Regions from separate parts of the Homo sapiens genome. Here region 2 is linked to region 1. The links are contacts of gene promoters, found by promoter capture Hi-C in human tissues and cell types (Jung and others, 2019). All regions are on one chromosome and are shown on one strand. Each heading gives the region's core, a stretch centred on a gene start or on the middle of the fragment in contact. The rest is flanking DNA. Distances are from core to core; before and after follow the strand shown.

Region 1 (7,962 bases), core at 1,943-4,442:
TTTCCAAGAGCTGCTGTGCCCTGGTGGAGAATATATCTTTCTTAGCCACCTGCTGTCTGTTCTCGCCACAGTCCCACCACCCTGGGCCTTGGCCCAGCCTCCTGAAAGCTGGGGCCCAAGTTCCTGGGGAGATTGTGTGCTGGGAGCTAGGCTCTTCCCTCCATCCCTCCCTTGCCCCCAAATGAGAAAAAGTGCCAGTGTCCCTCCCCCCTATAAAAAAGACAGGCTGCCTCGGGAGCCTCCCTGCTGTGCTGCAGGCAAGCAAAATAACACCAAATGCACGTTTGCGTTTGCCTTCTTCTACGGGGAGGTGTTTGGGGACTGGAGCCAGAAGATCCTTTTCTCTTTGCCTCCTTGTAGCTCAAAATTAAGCAGAGAAGCAGGCTTGGGGGAGCAGTGGGGACCTCAGGACGGCAGGAAGGGAGACACCTGCTTACCAGAGTCCTCTGGAGGGAGAGCATGATCGGACCTGCCCGGGGAGGTGTGGGTATGAGAGTGAAGACTCACCTCAGGGCAACGGACAGTCTTAGGCACAATTCAGATCCTATTTGTAGCAAAGTCACTTCATTTCTGATTTCGTTAATCAAATACAGTCTGCTGGATGATAAAAATGGTCCACAGCAATGGAGTGCTTCAGCTAGGTTCTTCGCCTCTCCCTTTTTATTAATTCTATTTAGAGGGGCTTTACCAGCTGCCATTTTTCACCCACAGGCTCCATTTCTGGGCTTAATGCAACAACCAAGGGTAGATTCCTGTACCCCTAGACCTCTGGCAACAGGCAATGTTGACTCTTCATCAACATTGGAAAGCAGGGTGGAGAAAGGACAGCCGAGCCAAGGTACCTACTGCGGCTCCAGGAGGTGAGTTCCTCGGAGCTGGTTTGCGTCGCTTAGCCCTGCATCCAGCACACATCTCTTTGTTCTTCTGTTTCCTGAGGCACCTCCCTCACCTCTTGCCAGAGCCCAGCTGTGGGTCTGGTGCAGAGAATTCAAAGTGGTGCTCAGATCTGCCCCAATCAGGCTCCAGGACAAGCTTCGGGAAAGTCTTTGGGGATGGGGAGAAGCAAGTAACCTCTGCCTCCCATGTCACATCTCCCTCCCAGAGGCCAAAAAGGCAACCCAGAGTTTGGCAAAACTAGGGGTTTGGTTGATTTTTTTACTCCCAAGGTTTGACAACCCAGGCTGTAGGCTGCGGGCCTGGGCTCTCAAGTCTCAGGAGAAGAACCTAGGTTGCCTCGTTTCCAGTGTGCTTGCAGTTCCCTGCAGGTTAGGAGTGTGTCCCAGGACAGACATCTTTCCCGTGGAACGGGCTGGCTTCGAGAATGACTGAGGAGGGTGATCCCCAGGGGCCAGCGCTTGCCTGTTTTTCAAACACACCTTCCCTCCTTCCCCTCCTATCAGGCGACTCTGCAGGGCTCCAAAAGCCGGGGGAGGCACAAATAGAGCTCAGGTCTGGCAGAGCCTGAAAAATCCCCCAAAGAAGGACAGCATGCCCTAGCCACAGTGCCGACCGCAAGGCCCCAATCAGCAGTGCCAAACTTTTCTTGGAGATGTGCTGCCGGTGAGGCTCTTCATAGGGACTCTGCCATCATGGGTATGGGGGTATCAAACACACACTAATGAATAAACCTCTGCTCAGATTCATAGGGCAGGAACTTCCCCCACCCCACAATGAATCAGACCAGTTCCTGCTCCCTCCTCTTACTTCCCCCTGTACTTATCTCAGGGAGTCAGCAAAGGGGGTGGGGGCGTCTGTGTCTGTCTCCCTCTTCTATGTGTCTGTCATTTACCTGGGTAACTTTGGTGCCTGGCACCCTTTAAGTGCTTAATAACAGCGAGTGCTTAAGAAAATGCCTGCTGAATGGACAACCTAACTCATAAACCCCATTGGTGGGAACCTGCATTCCTCAGTAATGTCGGATCAGTGTTTCTCAACTCCTCCCCACCCTACCCCATCACCCGCCCCTAAGGAGCTTTGAAAAGATCTTTTCTTCCTATTCTAGAACCAATTCCAGCTTCCACACCTCCCACCTTGAGAAGGAATGCATTAGATGAACCAAGACTTCTGCCTATATACATGGGCTGCTACAGTTGGCCACCCCGGCAGTCTGCGGCCTCCCAAGCGGGGGCCTGGGTCTTAATCCTTACTTCTCTCTAAGCTGCATGAAGGGTGCCCCCATTCCATCCCTCTTCACTTCTCCCCAGCATAGCGCCTCCATAAATGTTTGTGAACTGGATGAATGACTGTTGAGCGCTTGGTATGATGAGCTGCTTACAATAGGTGCTCAACCAATCTTTGTCCAATCTATGAATGAATGAATGAACTTCACCCTTTTCCTTCCATACCTCCGGGCTGAGCCTCTCTCCCACATGGAAACCCTAAGGCTGAGACCACCACCTTCCTACCAGTTCCTGGGGGTGCCCAGTGAACTGTCTCAGTATCCCCAGTGCCTAGCACACAGTAGGCGCTCAATAAACGCTTGCTGTGTTCATAATGAATGACTCAATCAGGCCCACGGTGGGGGTGAAGGGGGGCTCCATACTGTGCCTAAGGATACAGTGAATGAGCAAGTGACACACACTCCCCCACCCCAATCCCTAACTCTCCTTCCTCCCAGGATCGGGGGAGAAACCTCGGCCCACAGCCGGGATGCGCCCCCGCCGGGGTCACCGCGGCGGCGAACGTCCCGGACTTCGCATCCCGGTGACCCCTTGGGATGAACCGAAGCCGGACCCGCACCTTGGCCGTAACAAGCGCGCTCCACGCCGCCACGCACCAGCGGTGACTCCCGAGTCCTCTGTCGCCCTGGCCTCCCCGCAGGCGGGTTTCGAGGCCCCCGCAGGGAGTTCAGGGCCACGGCCACGTGCAGCCGCCCCCGAGCCCGAGTTTGCAGGCTCGGGGTCCGGTTCGCGCTTCGGTGGCGCCCGGCGAGGCTGCAGCGCGCAAAGTTCCCACCTCAAGTTCCCGTCGCGGCGTCCCCGCCTCGGAGTTGGCCCGGCCGCGGCTTCCGTTCCCCCCGGCTGCCCACGGGTCCGGGGCGAGGACGCGAGAGGGGCCTGGAAGTCGCCCGGGGAGCCCGCTCTGCCTCCCGGAGCCGCCGCCAAACTTCGGTCCCGGGGCCCGGCTCAGCTCCCGCCCTCGGAGCCACGGCCGCCCCGTCTCTGCCTCCCGGTCCCCGCCGGGCTCCGAGTGCGCCGGGAGCGCGGCGCAGCAGCCGCCGAGGGAGGGAGCGAGGCAGGAGGCGGGACGGAGGGAGGGGACTGAGCGCGGGGCGGGGAGAAGGGGCGGGCAGCCGAAAGCGCAGCGCCTGGCCTCGCCTCGCTTCGGGACAGTGGCAGCGGCGCCACCGTCACGGGGCGTCCAGGCGCCCAATCGGGACCCCGCACCTTGGATCCGGGGGCCCTGGCGCGCCTGCTGGATTGCGCTCCTCGCGGCCAGTTCCTGAGCCCGCGTCCGGGACTGCTCGCGCTACGCCCTCCCTCCCGTTGCCTTCTTCCCCGTCTGCTCTCCCAGGAGCGACCACCCTGCGGCCCCTTCGCCTGCACGCGACAGCCTTCAAGGTCCCCGCGCTCCGCTGCCCTGGAGCTTCACGCACCAGGCGGCGCGGCAGCCTCCTAGGGTCGCGCGCCCTGTCAGCTTTCCCCGCGGTGCAAGTGCTCCGGTGGTCCCGGGTCCGCGCCCCTAGCAGCACCGCCCCAGGGTCTACATGTGCTAGATATTAAAACCCCACTCTCCGCTGCCCCGGGGCCGCGCTCCACGCGCTTACACATCCTGGGAACCACATGCGCCATGTCTCCTGCCTTTCCCTGGAAGTCCTGGAAGTCCAAGTGCACTGCTGCCTCTGGGTCCCTCGCCCCCCTACCCCGGGCAAATACTGCATCCTTGAGGCCCTCCACGCGCTGCTGCCCTGGAGCCGAACGCTCCAAGCAAGCTTCCACATCCTGGGGGCCATATATCGCGCGCCTTTTCTCGACCTCCTAGACCAATGTTGCCCTTGGGCCCTTCCTGCCACCGCCACCCAGGGACTGCCAGCATCTTGCTGTGCCAAATTCCTAGGGCCAGTACGTACCGTGCCAGGTGTTTTCCCTTCCAGTCCCGCGGGGCCGAGGCCCCAGAGCCCTCCCGGGCTAGCAGAGCCGCACTTCGTCGTCCACTCCCCTGGCCGGTGCAGGGCACTTGGACCAGGTCCTGGGGTCTTGCTCCCAGTGTGGCCGCCTAGCCTCGGAGTTGGTAGGATGCTGCACAGATGCTGGAGGTTGGGTTGGAGGGATCTATTGGGTTGGAGGAATCTACTGAGTTGGAGGGACCTATTGGTTTGGAGGGATCTGTGCTGCTGGCAGGGCTGGCCTCTTAGGGTGGCTTGCCTTGCACTCCGTTCCTCTTCTCCTTTCTGTCTCTTGCACTCCGTTCCTCTTCTCCTTTCTGTCTCTTGCACTCCGTTCCTCTTTTCCTTTCTGTCTCTACTGCCTTTGCCTATCATCAGAGAACCAAGAAAGGACATGAAGAAACCCTGCTGCCGACCAGCCTGAGGCCTTCTGCTTGAGTGGGGCTCGGGTTGGGGAGTCGTGGGTGCTCATTAAGTGGGTTAGGGTTAACCCTAAGAAATGAGCGCAGGGCACACTAGCCTGCGCGGCAGTCCCAGCCGGGTGGAGCATAGGAGTTCCAGGTTATAGTGCACTATGATGGCACCACTGCAATCCAGCCTGCGTGACTGAGCGAGATCCAGCCTCTAAAACAACAAGAATAAAAACACTGGCTTACTGGTGAGGTGGAGGCCTGGACAGACAAGGATCTGCCTAAGGACCTGTTTCCAAGAGCTCACCTTCTACTGGGGGCTTGGCAGAATTGGGAAACTGCTGAAATACGTGATTGCAGAATGAAGCCAGAGAGGCCACTTTAGATAGAATAATGGGGGAGGGCTCCTGTGGAGGTGATGGTTACATGGAGCCCTGAGCCAGAAGGAGCCCATCTGGCAAGATGGGAAGAGAGCTTTCTAGGTGGACAGAACATCAAAGGCACTGGCCTTCAAGCAGGAGAGAAGGAGGCATGTCTGAGAAACATCAAAGAGACCAACCAGCAGTGTGGGGGAGGGGCCTGAGTGGGGTGGGGTGGGCTTTTGTTGTCAGAGGGTCCCTGGATTACATATTGAGAAACACTCCTCTTGTGGTGGATCAGGCTTCTGCCTTCCTTTCCCATCTGAAATTTTTTTTTTTTTTTTTTTTTTTGAGACATAGTCTCTCTGTGTCTCCCAGGCTGGAGTGCAGTGGTGTGATCTCAGCTCACTGCAACTTCCATCCCCCTGGGTTCAAGCGATTCTCCTGCCTCAGCCTCCTGAGTAGCTGGGACTACAGGTGTGTGCCACCATGCCCAGCTAATTTTTGTATTTTTAGTAGAGACGGAGTCTCACCATGTTAGCCAGGCTAGTTTTGAACTCGCAACCTCAAGTGATCCGCCAGCCTCAGCCTCCCAAAATGCTGGAATTACAGGCGTGAGCCACTGCACCCAGCCAGAAAATTGCTCTCTATCTTGTTTTTGAGACAGGGTCTGACTCTGTCACCCGCTGGAGTGCAGTGGTGCAATCATAGCTCACTGTAACCTCTAACTCCTGGGCTCTAGGGATCCTCCTGCCTCAGACTTCTGAGTAGCTGGGACTACCACACACCACCATGCACCACTAATTTAAAACAAAATATATTTTTTGCAGAGACAGGCGGGTCTGGAACTCCTAGGCTTAAGACATCCACCCACCTTGGCCTCCCAAAGTGCTGGGATTACAGATGTGAGCCGCTGCACCTGGCCATGTTTCTATCTTTTTTACTTGCGTATTATCTGTGTCCCCACTGGGGACCAAGCTCCATCAGGGCAAGGACTGTGTGCTGTCTCTCCCCTCTCCAGCAGCTCCCACTCTGCTAGGCACATACAGAGCAGGCTTCTTAAATGATTCCTGGAAATGATTCCTGGGGGAATTCAGGACAGTTTTCTGGAATAGATGTGACTGCGTCAGAGAGTCAGACTCCTCACTGATGCTCACAGGGTAAGGATGCAGAGCAGGGCCTCTCAGACTTTACTGTGCATCTGAATCCCCCTGAGGGCTTATTAAAACCCAGACGGCTGGCCCCCACCCTGGAGTGGCTGATTCAGTGGGTCTGGCGTAGGGTCCTTCTGAGGAGTTCCCTGCTGATGCTCATGCATCAGGTCTGGGGATCCCACTTTGAGAACCACTGATATTGAAGACTTGAACGCCTACCCAGCTGGGTCTGACTTCGGAGCCCTCATGAGGTCCCGGGACAAACTCAAGCCAGCTTCTTCTTATGTAGGATCCATAGGAACTAATGGCCACCTCTAGAGATGGGGCTGGGCTTATTAGAACACTATGCACCTGAGTCAAATTTCATAGTGACCTGCAGACAGAAGACCTGGTACACTGTGTGGAGACCGTCAGTGAGAACAATGACTTCCACCCGGTCCTGCCTACCCGCAACATACACACTCACTTGCTGTACCCAGGAGTTAAATTACTGCCTGATCTTATCCCTGACTGTGCTAAACAATGTCCAATAAAATCCTTTTAAGTCCTTTTAAGGAATTCCCTCTTTGCAGTTCCTCCCTCCCTTAGAGCCTTCCAGATTTTTCACTCTTCTCCTCATATCTTCATTTTCCTCTTGAAAAGCATCCTTCCCCAAGCTGTTGTGTGGAAAGAGATGTTGATGATACCCATGGAAGCTTCCTGAGAAAATGGGAACCGTCAGTGCTTGCTGGGCAGCTACGAGGTGCCAGGTGGTTGCTGGGTGATTTGAAGACATCAGAGCCACAACTGGGCCCGGAGGTGGACTCTGGCACGCAGACCTGTTTTATTTGTCCCTACTGAGTTAAAATTTTTAAAAATTAATTTAAAATTAGTTGCTGACCTTTAAAAACTGGGAGATTTCATGTAAAATTTTTTCTTTTGAAACACTGGGAGATCTGGCCAACATCCTTTACCCACACAGCATGCTGGCGCTGGGCAGTGGCTTCTGCTCCCTGCGGTGTGCCCCTCTACCCACATCATACCATCTCGGTTACTGCCAGGCCCCTGGAAGCAAGAGTTGGTGACTTTTCATGTTGGCAGATTGTCTAGGGTTGCGCGGTAAATGGCAGAGCCAGATCCGAACCCAGGCCTGCCTAACCCAAAAGCCCAAGCTTGTCACTGAAATAAAAACTGCTGTTAATTTTTCGGGCAGGAGGAGAATGTGACATTGCTGGCCCTGAGGAAATACCTTAAAAGGGAGTTACTGTCAGCAGTTTAAGAATATGCCTTCCTTCCCATCCATAACCAGCTGTCAGTAAGCCATAAAGTTCTGGGCTGTTTTTCCAGGGCAGGAAAAGTTATCCAGAGCTGTCCATTTTTTTTTAACCCATCTCCTCCTTGAGATGAAAAGGCTTGGATTTGGTTGGAGTTGGGAGGAATCTGTTGAGAGTGGTGGGTGGGGTGGGATTTTCTTGGTTTGGAGTTAGCTCTTTGGACAGGGGATCCCACTGGGTGTCTGTGGGGTGAAGGCTGGTGTTTGAGTCAAGGCAGGGATTGGGATGGGGGCATTCTCCTTCTCTCTCTCCACAGACACTCTGCCCCAGGCACTTTCCCTTTCTGTTCCTCTGATTCCCCAAATCCTGTCACCTTCCCGCAGATTTCCATATAGCCACTTCCTGCAGGTCTCAGCCCATTGTCACCTTGGGATTCCTGGTCTGGGATGGGGTTAGGTTGCAGTAGGTGAGGTTGAGGCATGCAAGGGTGTGACTTTATTGAAGTCTTTCTTTTAAAATGTGATATTTTGCTTCTTGTGGATTTTTGTGGACTAATTTTGATTTTTAAAAAATATTGTTTCAAAATGTTATTTACCTTGATGATTGAGCTTTTGGGCACCTCCTTACTTTTTTTTTCTTTTCTTTTTTTATTTTTTTTGAGATGGAGTTTCTTTCTTGTTG
Region 2 (7,962 bases), core at 3,993-6,492, 510 kb after region 1:
ATTATACCCATTTTACAGATGAGAAAAACCTGGCCCGGGAATTTAACTTCCGTCTCAGGGTCTCGCAACCAGCAAGGGGCCAAGCCAAGATTTAAATCCATTTAAAGTCAGTCTTAAACCTGACTCTGAATCCCATGCTCATAACCAGAAAACCATCTCTTAAAACTAAACCACAGAATCAATCATTTTCAAAGCCCTGCTCACCTGCAGATGGGAATGGCAGGCACCAGCGGCTTGGGCCAAGTGGGCGGAACCAGCAGGATGGATTCTGGAGCCGAGTTTCTCCTCTCGCCCTGCTCGCAGGGCCCCAGGAACTCCACGGCCGGGTAGATGTGGCGAGGCAGGCCGGCCTTGGATGGGGCGGCAGACACCGGCGAGGGGTCAGGGCTGGTCTTCCACATCTTGGGGGGGATCCCACAAGGCGAGTCCGTGGCGAGGCTGTTCAGGGCATCCATGATCACGGCAGAGCCAGCCACAGGGGGGTACCCAGCCGGGGAGCCGTGGTCCTGGGGTGCCACGTGAGATGAGGGCTGCGGCGAGGGGCTCCGGGAGCGCTGGGGTGAGGCTCCGGGCGGCAGGGCAACCAAGGCCTCGGCGCACGAATGCCTCCGCTTGGCACCAGGCGATGAGGAGCGGGAGGCCGGACGGGGCACGGGCGAGTGGCGGCCCAGGCAGCTGTCCTCGGCGAGGCTGGTTCGAGGTGACATTATTGGCGAGGTTCTGGGGGAATAATGAGCAGGGATGTTTTGAAACTGCGGACACAGGTCGTCGGGCCCGCCGTTATTGGGCGAGACGCAGGGCGAGGTGTAGGGGGAGAAGGTGTCAGAAATGAAGCTGGCAGAGGAGCCGCTGCTAGCGGGGCTCAAGCAAAGCGGCTCGCGGTAGCCCTCGAAGCCGGGCACGGGCAGGGTGAACCTCGGGCTGGCGGCCACCCCGGCCAGGGGCGGCTGCTCCACCAGGAGGCCCGCGTCTCTCATGCGGAGGGGCCCCACTGCCTGGATCAGTTCGTGGGACGGAGTGATCTCGATCCGAGGGCTCAGGCCCGAGGCCCCTGCTGGCTTGGCCGCGCTCAGAAACTTCTGCGGCCCTACCCTATCCGGCTCTCCGAATCGGCCGGGGGGCTCGCCAGAGAGACTAGCAAGGGGGCTGTATGGCTTGAGGCCATAGTCCAGGACATCATCGGGGTATGCGGGTCCGGAGGGTGGGCTGGCGACCTTATGTGCATTCGGCTCTTCTGGAAAGAGAAGGGGGAAGGGGGTTCTTTTTAAGCCTCAAAAACAGAACTCCCGGTGCAGAGCAATCACAGGCTGGATTTCGTCTCACGTCGTTTATTTTTTTCAAATTCCCACCATGCCAAACCCCAAGCTAGAAGCTCCGTCCCTCACCAGAAGAAAACTGAGGCCACTTTGTCCCAGGTCCCTGGAGAAGACAGGTCGAAGCAGAATGAGTTCTGGAAGACCCCTGGGCTAAGGGCCTCGAAACTTGGCTTTAAATGAAACCCTTCGGAGAAGTGCACTTTATCTCACAACCCCATTCACGCCACCATATACACCCACAACTGAAACAAAAGCCTCTCGAGTCAATACTTACCCCTGCTACATGACACCCTCAGACCCTCCCTCCTGCCTGAGTGATTTTGCTTCAACGCTGGTCACGACCCATTAGACGGATCCCCTAACCCGTCTGCGCGGTAGGTCATGACCCCTAGTTTGAAAAGCACCTATCTAGGGCCTATGGCAGCACTCTACACACATGACGTGGACGCAGGACACAGAGGGAGGCTGCGCAGACTCTGCAGCCCACAGTGCCCTGGGCTTCAATCCCAGATTTCACACCAAGTACAAGAAGTGGCTTCATTCAGATCCAGGGCTCCTGACTCATGTCTCATCTGTGTCATTTTACAAATGAGGAAACTGAGGCCCAGAGCGGGGAAAAGGCCCACCGAAAGATACGGAATTAGCAGGCTTAAAAATACCACAGGCAAGCCACTTGCCCCCCAACAGGCAGGGTCACTGCTACAGAGGTTACCTGACACCCAAACTATTAGACCCAATGGATGCAGGCCGGGCGTGGTGGCTCACACCTGGAATCCCGGCACTTCGGGAGGCTGAGGCGGGCAGATCACTTGCGGTCAGGAGTTTGAGACCAGCCCGGCCAACATGGTGAAACCCCATCTCTACTAAAAATACAAAAATTAGCCAGGCGTGGTGGCACAGGCCTGTAATCCCAGCTACTCAGGAGGCTGAGGCACAAGAATCGCTTAAAACCAGGAGGCGGAGGTTTCAATGAGCCAAGACTGTGCCACTGCATGCCGGCCTGGGTGATAGAGTGAGACTCTGTCTCAAAAATAAAATAAAATACACTAAAATAAAGATAAAACCAATGACTGCAAAATGACCTAACTTCCTCTTTTAGCGGCTGCCTAGCCCGGGCTCCTGCTGCCACCTCGAAAGGCCCTACCGCTGCAGAATGCTGTTCAAGTAGAATGTTCTATGTCAGCCACCCAAGGACACTGCCACCCATCACCTCACACTGTCATTTAATTCTCAGCCTGACCCTCTTCTAGCAGACACCCTGCCTCACTGCATCCTGTACAGGTCCAGGCACGTGGGGCTGCTTGGGAAATTCCCACGGAGTTAGTGCCACCCACCCACCCCTCACAGCAACTCCACCTCCAAGGCCCCCCACCTCATCAGAGGCTCCTCCAACCTCCCCGCCAGCTCATGGGGCGGCCTGGACTCCTTACTCTGATGCCTCACATCTGATCCATCATCAGCCCTGACTGCTCCACTGTCAGAACAGAAACTAGATTCCCAGGTCTCCCCATTCCATCGCATCCACCCTGGTCCAAGCCGCCGTCCTCTCCCATGGGGACTACTGCAGTCATCTCCTCCCTGGCCTCCCCACTTCCTCTGTGGCTCTGTCAGTCTGTTTGTCACGCAGCAGCCTTTAAAATGTCCATTCTCAAAACCTACTATAAAGGCTTCTGGACACTTTAGATGGAACCTAAAGTCACTAACGCAGCATGTGCCCCGGCCTGCCACCCACCCCCACCACTCCCCACTTCTCCCCAAGCTGAGTCAGCAACAACCCCTCCAACCTCTTCGCCGTACTTAAGCAGCTCCTGCCTCAGACGCCTTGGGTTCCCTCTGCCTGGAAACCCTCCCCGCGAGATCCTCCCACTTCCCCTGGTTCCTTCCTGCATCTGCTCAGCCCGCACCTCCTGAGATCGACCCATCAAAAAGATCCCCTCCTTCCCTTTTCCCTGCCATCTTTTCTCCACTGACGCCTGCTAACAGCTCCCGTCGCACCAGGTATCTGTTTAGGGAATCTCATTCTGCCAAACCAGGTGCAGGCAAACCACAGCCCATGGGCCAAATGCGGCCCATGGGTTGTGTTTGTAAATAGTTTTATGACAACACAGCCAGCCTATTTATTGACACAGGGTGAACAAAGCAAGCTACAGCTTGCTCCTATACTACAACAGCAGAGTTGGTAGTCTGGGAACCGAATGGCCCCCAAAGCCTGAAATATTTACTCCTTGGCCCTTTAGAGAATTTTACAACCCCACACTCGACCCAGAGCTCCGTCAGTGTTGGGCCCGTGTCACTGTGGCCCAGCATTGTCTGCCAAGCACCTACCACAGGGCCTGGCACTTGCAAGCCCCCATAAACATTTGCCGAGTGGCTGAGAGAATAAGTAAATATAAGAACCATGTCCGGGGCCTGCCAGCCAGAAACAAGCCCTCTTCCTGCTTTGGGGGACCCCAGGTGGCCACCCCAGTGAGCCTCAGCCTCCTTGTTCCCTTTCTGGGCTATCCTAGAGGAAATACTGTCCAGTTTAGCCAAGCTGATCTCTTAGGGTCCATATGGTACCCCTACTTCCAAAATGGCTCCCCACAGCTCTTAGGTAAAAATAAATGACCCCCGCCAGGCAGCCTGGCTGGGCCCTGCCTGTGCATCTACCCTCGCCTGCATTCACTCTCTCCCCTCCCTCTCTCTGAACTCCAGCCAAAGGGGAGTGTGGTGATTTTTGTTTTGTTTTTGAGGTCTTACTCAGCTGCCCAGGTTGAAGTGCTGTGGCGCAATAATAGCTCACTGCAGCCTCCACCTCCCAGGCTCAAGCAATCCTCCCACCTCAGCCTCCCAAGTAGCTGGGACTACCAGTGCACACCACCGGGCTCAGCTAATTTTTTTTTATTTTTAGTAGACAGGAGGTCTCACTATGTTGCCCAGGCTAGTCTCCAACTCCTGAGCTCAAGTGATCCTCCCACCTCAGCCTCCCAAAGTGTTGTGATTACAGACGAGAACAACCGTGTCTGGCAAAGGGGAGTTTTTAAAAGCATCAAGCTCCTTCCTGCCCCGGGACCTTGGTACTTGCTGCTCCCCCTGCCTCAACAGCTCCTCCCCTACCCACTGCCAGGCCCCCTTCTCCACAGGACTAAAGCCCATTCATGCCCATGAGCTGGGCTTAAGTACTGCATGCTTCTAGAAGGACCCCTGACCACTTGACTAGCTCAGGCCCCACTCACAGGCCCCTGCTGTGTTCTGTGCACATCTCACCATAACGACTGAGGAACTGTGGAGTGCTCCGTTTCCCTCGACCTCCAGTCTGCCCTTCCCTCGACCTCGAGATCCACCCCCACCAATCAGCAAATGCCATGAGGACTCTTGCTCCGCCATGCCCCTAAGCACTTGGAATGGTCCTGCCACTAAACAGGCCCTCAGAAAGGATGTGTTGGCTGAATGAATGAGGCAAGTTCAGAAAAGTCTACCTGGAATAAACTATTACTCAAAGATGCTAATATCCAAACCAAAAGATAGAAGGCTATAACTCTAGAGAGGGTCATTTTGTAATATCCATGAAAATTCCAAACACACGTGCCCCCGGAACCACATGTGCCCTCGGAACCAAGCAATGCTACTTTTAGAAATTCATCCTGGGCCAGTCATGGTGGCTCACACCTGGAATCCCAACCGTTTGGGAGACAGAGGTAGGAAGATTGCTTGAGGTCAGGAGTTTAAGACCAGCCTGGGCAACGTAGAGACCCCATCTCTAAAACAAAAATTTTTTTTTCATTAGCTGGGCATGGTGGCACCTACCTGTAGTCCCAGCCACTGGAGAAGCTGAGGTGGGAGGATCAAGGCTGTAGTGAGCCATGATCGTACCACCACCTCCCAGCTTGGGTGACAGGATGAGAACCTGTCCCAAAAAAAAAAAAAAAAAAAAATTCTTCCTGCAGATATACTCTCACCTGTGCAAAATGACCTGTGTATGCTTAAGATTCATTACTACAACCCTGACTGTAATCCCAAAAGACTGGAAGCAACCCAAAGCCCATCTATTGGGGATGAATTAATTCTGGCTCATTCATATGATGGGATACAGTATAGCTACAAAAAGGCCTGAAGAAGTTCTTTATGCATTGACATGGAATGACCACTGAGATTTAGTATTAGAGAAAAGCAAGCTGTATAGTGTGCACAGCATAAAAAGTGAGAGGATGTACACAAACACAGAGAGATGTACACACAATGTACACAGACAGATGTACACACAGATGTATACAGATTACACCTGCACATATATACACAGATGTACAGATGTACACGCACAGACAGATGTACACACACATATGTACACACACAGACAGATGTACACGCACAGCTGAAGGATGCACAGGCTTTCTCTGGAAGTCACAAGTAATAGTGACATCCTCCAGGGAGGGGAACTAAGGAATGGGAGGACAGTGGCATGGCAGAAAGGAGACTTCCTTTGATTTGTGTAATTGTGTAAGAAAATAAATGTAACTCCCAAAAGAAACATTTTTAATTTTATTTCATAGGTGGTAGGTGACATAGCATGATATACAGTAATGAAACCCTGTTTTACGAAGCAGGAAATGAAGAGTGCAGTCCTGCTCCGCCACTAAGTAGCAGCGTGACTTTGGAAAAGTCCCCCACCCACTGGAGGCCTCAACACCTTCTCATTTATAACTGAACAGCATTAAACTGAATCAGTTTCCTTGGTGGCTTCTGGCTCTGAAATCCTTTGATTTTTCTAGCTAGCATCTGTAAGGCCTGGAGTTCTTGTGAGGCTGTAGTTTAATGTAAATGTGTATTTGAATTCGCACATACACACACACACGCCTTCCTAGAAGGTAACAGAGCACAGAGTTTTAATCTAGGAAAAGAGGAATGTCAAACCCATGGCCGACAACATTCTGAGAATTCACTGCCCTTCGAACCAGAAAAACAAAACACAAAAAGTTTCTTAGCAAAAATTCCGGCCGTATCAGAAGAACTGCACTGTATCTTATCAGAAACACACCCTTGGGGCTGATGTGCACAGTCCACAGAAACGCAGTCCTGAAAACACACATCACTCACACTCCCTAGGAGCTCTGAAAAACAGAAAGCTCCAGTGTGCTGAGCAAAAGTATTTAAAGCATTTACATTGGTTTTCATTAATCCAAGCGGCAGTTTTTTTTTTTTCCTCTTGACAAGACTTTAAATGTTTACCAGCAAGCAGGGAATATGAAGATAATTAATAATCATTTAATTCTCAGTCCCCTGGGTATTTGACAGTAAATTTCACAAATAGCACATCATTAAAATATTTCTCTAAGTCAGTGGCTGAGATTCGTCACTATTTCTCCTTAAACAACTGCCACGCTCACAGGCGGCTTTCTTACAGTCATCACGATGCCCGCACGGCACTGGGTGAAGTTAGTTTCATCTCAGAACCACCAAATGTTCTCAGGAGGATTTCCAAAAAGCTTGCTTTTTTTTTAACCACTTGCACGATCTTTGCTCTATCCATGTGCCACCAAAAAGTATTTACTTAATACTTCTAGTATTTAAATTCACTCACTTATTTTTTTTTTATTTTAAAAGGAAACTTTACACCACTACTGCAGATGGAAAATCAATGTCACCTCCATAAATAGAAGGTAGGGTAAAAATACAATAAAAATAAAACTTACTAAATTCAAGCAAGACACAGTGGCTGGGCAAAGGCTCTGAGTCTGAGGCTTTATACAGCCCCGCCCCCGCCAATGCTTCTGCGGTATAACTCATATACACAGATGTCAGTGTTTTGAGTATAGAGTTTGACGAGTTTTGCCAAATGTCATACATTCTTGCTACCACCAACATAATCAAAATATGGAACATTTCCAAGACCCCAGAAAGTCAAGACCTAGGAACAGGGAAAGGGAGGAGCCAGTGTTAGAAAGAAAGGTGTCAATGGTACAGCAGTACCTCACTGAAGCGCTACTCCTTTTTTGTTTGTTTGTTTTTTGTTTTTTGAGACAGAGTCTTGCTCTGTTGCCAGGCTGGAGTACAGTGGTGCGATCTCGACTCACTGCAACCTCCGCCTCCCGGGTTCAAGCGATTCTCCTGCCTCAGCCTCCTGAGTAGCTGGGATTACAGGTGACCACTACCATGCCCGGCTAATTTTTTTGTGTTTTCAGTAGAGACAGGGTTTCACCATGTTGGTCAGGCTAGTCTCGAACTCCTGACCTCAAGTGATCTGCCCACCTCGGCCTGCCAAAGTGCTGGGATTACAGGCATTAGCCACCATGCCTGGCCTGAAACTCCACTCCTTCTGACTAGTTCAAAGAGAAAATAGCGCTGAAAAATAGTTCTTAGCACATACAACGTCCTCACTGGTGGACCACCTAAAATCCATTTCACCTACCATGGGAGGTACCTGGCCTGCATACGAAGCATCAGTACCAAAGGGAGGAAGAAGATAGAAGCAGGGATGGGGGATTCAGAGGTTGCTGCTCAAGGGCCTCTGTACCTCCATGTCACGCACATGCTGTTCCCCTTACCCAGAACTCCCTTCCATACCTCCCGACCTTACATCTCCTAACAAGCCACTATTTATCCATCATGACTTGACCTGAGCCACCCCCTCCTGGAGGCCCTCCCTGTTTCCCCAGGCTGGATCAGGCAG

What was found. The method cuts DNA at HindIII sites, captures the fragments that hold promoters and counts their contacts. A contact is called where the count stands out against the background at its distance.
Region 2: a contact is called between a fragment that was not itself captured here and the fragment with the promoter of KCNG1 in region 1, in 2 of the 25 tissues and cell types used here (IMR-90 fibroblasts and lymphoblastoid cells).

What each region holds. Positions count from the first base shown.
Region 1 is chr20:51,019,915-51,027,876 of GRCh38, forward strand. KCNG1 (potassium voltage-gated channel modifier subfamily G member 1) reads right to left here and starts at 3,193. Exons shown (of 3, transcript NM_002237.4): 1 at 2,956-3,193. RefSeq lists an enhancer at 834-1,397 and a silencer at 3,122-3,291. The HindIII fragment of the contact is 10,697 bases long and covers 1-5,327 here.
Region 2 is chr20:51,522,877-51,530,838 of GRCh38, forward strand. It overlaps NFATC2 (nuclear factor of activated T cells 2), which reads right to left. Exons shown (of 11, transcript NM_012340.5): 2 at 205-1,234. Among named protein-coding and RNA genes, the nearest start is that of NFATC2, 16 kb to the right of the region's middle. The HindIII fragment of the contact is 7,486 bases long and covers 1,500-7,962 here.